Linked DNA regions of Homo sapiens: region 2 is linked to region 1. Evidence: promoter capture Hi-C in human tissues and cell types (Jung and others, 2019). All regions are on one chromosome and are shown on one strand. The core of a region is centred on a gene start or on the middle of the fragment in contact, and the rest is flanking DNA. Distances in the headings are between cores, read along the strand shown. Region 1 holds the start of MBD3L3 (methyl-CpG binding domain protein 3 like 3). Region 2 overlaps LOC124904625 (a long non-coding RNA gene).

Region 1 (2,700 bases), core at 57-2,556:
ATCCCAGACTTCCCTGTTCACCAAGACCTCACGCTTCTCTGTATCTCTTTCTGCTGTGCTTCAGGACACAACGTCATTTTCATAGCTCCTTGACTCTCTGGTTTCCAAAGAAATCCTGCACTCGCCACCTTAAATACTCACTGCCACACCCAGATCCCACCTTCACCTGAACACCTCCTGCTCATGAAGAAAAACCTCAGAAACACCATGTTGCTTTCTGTTTCTAATAAGCTCAATTAACTAGAGGTATACCATGAGAGAATCTTTTGATGACATACTGAGAAAGATGATCAAGCGCCTCCTAAGATTTGACGTCCTTTCTTGCTCTAACTCAATTGGAAGACTCTAGTCTCATAAAGCTGTTTCCCCCACAAACCTCATCAGTGCACTTTCCATTTTAAAGCCTTTGTTTCTGTCCTCCTCATTTCATTTTTCGTTGTCCTGGCATAAAGATTAATACTACCCCTTACAGTACCCCTGGCATAAAGATTAATACTGACCCAAGATGTTCCCCTTTGGAGGGAAAATTATTTAGTCCCCTTAGTTACGGGGCACTTATGATGTGCCAAGCTGTGCAGTAGAACCCCTGATCCAGAAGTAAACTTCATAAATCACCACTCTGTTGATTTTCATCTTGGTGAGAAGGAAGACATAATAAACGCACTAAAAACAAATTTCTGGTGGAATATCAGATATAAGTAAGTTCCATGATGAAGAAGAAGGGAGTGACAGAGAGGGATGGAAGGAGGAGAAACAGAGAAACAGAAAAGAAATTCACTACAATGAATCGTGACAGTGAGTTTAGGGAATAAGCAACTCATCATGAAATTTTACCAGAGAACTAATTTTTTTTGTTTTTTGTTTTTTTAAAAAAACGGACCAAGCAATTTCTGGTTCAGGAGCTTTCCAGAGAAGGAGACAATTTGAAGACTGCAAGGCCAAATCATACTTCTTCCCTTTCCTAGTGATGTTGGATTTTTAAAAAAAAATTCAAAGCTATTATCCCCATACAGTTTCATGGGCAAAAATGAGAATACTTTGAACATTATTCAACAGATATTACCACCTGAGGTATAACTTTCCACAACATCCAGTTTTAAGAACAACCCACTGCTAACTGTAAAGCTGTCTTACAGAAGGAAAAAGGACACATATGGACATTCCTGTAATCAATAAATATCCCGTACTCACCAGAACAGGTGGGCTCGGAAAAGAGGTGAACGCAGGCTCTCCCATAGCCGTAGAGTTTCTCTTGCTGACCCCACTCTTGAGATGCAGACAACCCTTGGCTTGCCGGAAAATGCAGTGACTTCTGCATCTGGTTCCCCTTTTTATAGAGAAAGCGAGTGATAATGCAATCAGTGGATAATCCACAGGGAACACCCTGTCTCCGCCCATTGGATTTGAGGCATTTCTAAATCTTTATACAGAAACCAATGTGGTGTTACCTACACAGAGTGTTAGTAGAGAAAGAATTGAATACGTGTGTATGTGTGTGTGGCGGGGTGGTATTTACAGTTAATATCAGCATTTTAGATATGTTTCCCTTTTTCTCCCAGTTTTCCAAACATCTTTGAATACTTTCTATAGAAATAGGAATGGAATTGTCTATGTACATAAATGTTCACGTAATATTTGATTTAATAACAACAACTAAAGACCATTTAAATGTTCTTTAAGAAAAGAAAGCCCAAAACTTTTATTCACAATCCTATAGAATATATCACACAGTTGTTGCAAAGAAATTACTACTTTGGCCGGGAGAGGTGGCTTACGCCTATAATCCCAGCACTTTGGGAGACCAAGGCAGGTAGATCACCTGAGGTCAAGAGTTCGAGACCAGCCTGGCCAACATGGTGAAACCCCATTTCTACTAAAAATACAAAACTTACCCTGGTGTGGTGGCATGCACCTGTAATCCCAGCTACTCGGGAGGCTGAGGCAGGAGAATCGCTTGAACCTGGGAGGGAGAGGTTGCGGTGAGCCGAGATCGCACCACTGCAGCTCAGCATGGGCGACAGAGTGAGACTCCATCTCAAAAAAAAAAAAAAAAAAAAGTTCTATTTCGTGCATTTACATTTAATATAATTACCAGTAAATTTGAAATTGTTTCAATCATCTCATTTTTCCTAGGTTTTGACTTAACTGACTCACGTTCCTTTTGCCTTTACTTGACTGACTTTGAATTAAATATGTTTATTATTTTATTGTTATCTCCATGAACTTGCTAGTTACAGCCATACAAATCTGTGTAGTTATGCTAATAATTAAATCATATACTCTGATACAATTAATTACTTTAACCCCTCCCACAAAATGCTAATACTTTAGAACACTTTTAATTCTCTTTTTAGCTGTTTCTGACTTTTGTATTACCATTCTCATGCATATTAATTCTACACATATTTTACTCTCCAGGAGACATTTCTAGTATTGCTTCATAAAGCAATATGCACTAATATTTACCTACAGCTTATCTTGTGCATTCATCTTTGTTCCTTTCTGCATTTCTAGCATTCAATCTGGGATTATTTCCCTGTGGACTTGAGAATTCATTCTAGTATTTTTCTTCTAATTCAATGCTGCTAACAACTAATTGTTTTCCTTTACACTTTTATTTAGGCATCTTTATTTGGGGGCAATATTGCTGTCAGGTACGGGTGTCTGGTTTGACAAATTTCTTTCAGCATATTAGAAATG
Region 2 (2,700 bases), core at 177-2,676, 37 kb after region 1:
CCAGCCTGGGCGACAGAGTGAGACTCCATCCCAAAAAAAAATAAAAATAAAAATCCATTCAGATAAGGGACTGGCAGAGAGAAAGCAGAATGTGGAATGGATGTGGAAGAATTAAATTCAGTCCTGAAGACCAGGTCCCAAAGCAGGAATAGAAGACAGCTATGCTTTGGGTTTGGGTTTTTTAAAAAATCTTTAATTTTTTCCGCTTTTTCCCTGGTTCCCCACCACCACCATCACCATTTTATATGAAGAGTCCTGGTTGTGGCCAAAGCTTAAGGTTTCTGATGGGAATACGACCAAATGACATTATCCCAACAGTAGCTTCCTTTGTATCTCTTTTTTTTTTTTTTTTTTTTTGAGATGGAGTCTCACTCTGTCACACAGGCTGGAGTGCAATGGTGCCATCTCTGCTCACTACAACCTCCGCCTCCTGGATTCAAGCGACTCTCCTGCTTCAGCCTCCCGAGTAGCTGGGACTACAGGCACACGCCAGCACACCCGGCTAATTTTTGTATTTTTAGTAGAGATGGGGTTTCACTATGTTGGCCAGGCTGGTCTTGAATTCTTGACCTTGTGATCCGCCCACCTCGGCCTCCCAAAGTGCTAGGATTACAGGCGGGAGCCACCGCGCCCGGCCCCCTTTGTATCTTATGTAGGGACATGAACTTAGCGCCAAGTGAAGGACAAGAATTGATATCCAAAATCCAATAGATTTTTCTTTTAAATACCTGAAAGTGAAACTGGCCCAATTTTCCCATATTGCTGATGTTTATGGTTTCCTTGAATAAACAAACAAATTGATCTTCCCAATCTTAAAACTTAAGAAAGTTACATTTATCTTATCTGAGTTCCTTTCTCAGGAAACCAACCATCAGGCCTCCCAGATAGTATCTAGGAGCTGAAACGCACCAGAATACTGCATTTGTACAGTGAGACATCAGACCCATCACCCATCATGATTGCCTAACTGACCACCTGCTTCCTGTTGACCAACTCCTCTTCCTTACCCTTCCCTAATTCCTGTATTCCCACACATGGTAACATTTCTTCCCTGCTATATAAACCTCAAATTTTAGTTGGTCAGGGAGATGGATTTGAGATTGTTCTCCCACCTCCTCAGCTGCAGCAGCTGATTAAAGCCTTCTTCCTTGGCAATACTCATTGTCTCAGCGATAGGCTTTCTGTGCAGTGGTGAGCAGCAGGACCTAGATTGAACCCCTGGTGTTTCAGCAACAACATAGTTCATCACCAGCAGAACTGCACTTCAAGAAACACTAAAGAAAGTTTTGGGCCAGACACGGTGGCTCACACCTGTAATCCCAGCATTTTGGGAGGCTGAGGCAGGTGGATCACCTGAGGTCAGGAGTTCGAGACAAGGCTGGCCAACATGGCAAAACCCCATCTCTGCTAAAACTACAAAAAAAAAAAAAAATTAGCTGGGCGTAGTGGCGGTCGCCTATAATCCCAGCTACTTGGGAGGCTGAGGCAGGAGAATTGCTTGAACCCAGGAGGTGGAGGTTGCAGTGAGCTGAGATCGCACCGTTGCTTTCCAGCCTGGGCGATGGAGCGAGACTCTGTCTCAAAAAAAAAAAAGAAGGAAGGAGGGAGGGAGGGAAGGAAGGAAGGAAGGAAGGAGAAGGAAAGAAAGAAGGAAAGTTTTGGGGCTGGAGGAAAATTATTCCATGTGGAAGCAATTCCAGAAATATATAAGGATAATCAGGAAAGATAAAATGTGAGCAAATACAAATAAATATTGACTGTATAAATCAAGCCTGTATAGTTTTAACACTTTTATACGTCTAAATCTTTTTTTTTTTTTCAGACGGAGTCTCACTCTGTTGCCCACACTCACCTCACTGCAACTTCCGCCTCCTGGGTTCAAGCAATTCTCTTGCCTCAGCCTCCAAGTAGCTGCAACTACAGGTGTGCACCACCACGCCCAGCTAATTTTTGTATTTTTAGTAGAGATGGGGTTTCGCCATGGTGACCAGGCTGGTCTCAAACTCCTGACCTCAAGTGATCCATCTGCCTTGGCCTCCCAAAAGTGTTAGGATTATAGGCGTGAGCCAACGTGCCCAGCCCTAATTTTTTTTTTTTTTCAAATAAAAAGAGTTTTAAATCACATTGAACTGGTCCCTTAAAACTAGAGATAATAGAAAGCATGGCAAGCCATTTCCCAGTCCCCCTAAGACTAGAGATTATGGAAGCCCCAGCAAGTGATTCTCACAATCTGCATACAGCAGTAGAGCTGACAGAAGCCCTAGCAGGTAACCACCAGTCACCCTCAAAACAAGAGGCAACAGGATGCCAGATCTCCACCCCTCAATCACTTACAAACACAAAAGATGGAGTCCAAACATGAAGACCTCCGTCATCGCGAAACTACTCCAGCAAGCACCCCTCAGTCACGTCCAAAACTATAACAGAAGTCCCTGAAATGACCCCTTCAGATGCCCCTCAACACTAAAGAATGGGGACTCCAAGCCCAATGGCCTACCCAGTCTATACCAACAGTACAGGCAAGCGGAGACCCAGAATATGACCCTCCCCAACTAGAGATAAGTGGAACCCCATCCAATAATCCCTCCATCCTCTCCCCAAACAATACACAGTAAGGCCTCTATCTGATAAATGCTCTTGACCCTTCAACACTAGAAAAAAATGGAAGCCCCAGGCACTGGCCCTCCAGTTACCTCCAAC

What was found. Contacts are between HindIII fragments. The study calls those that stand out against the background at their distance.
Region 2: a contact is called between a fragment that was not itself captured here and the fragment with the promoter of MBD3L3 in region 1, in 2 of the 25 tissues and cell types used here (hippocampus and neural progenitor cells).

What each region holds. Positions count from the first base shown.
Region 1 is chr19:7,057,370-7,060,069 of GRCh38, forward strand. MBD3L3 (methyl-CpG binding domain protein 3 like 3) reads right to left here and starts at 1,307. Exons shown (of 2, transcript NM_001164425.4): 1 at 1,192-1,307. The coding sequence starts at 1,236. The HindIII fragment of the contact is 21,543 bases long and covers 1-2,700 here.
Region 2 is chr19:7,094,083-7,096,782 of GRCh38, forward strand. All of the region lies in intron 1 of LOC124904625 (a long non-coding RNA gene), which reads right to left. Among named protein-coding and RNA genes, the nearest start is that of ZNF557, 26 kb to the left of the region's middle. The HindIII fragment of the contact is 4,002 bases long and covers 1-2,700 here.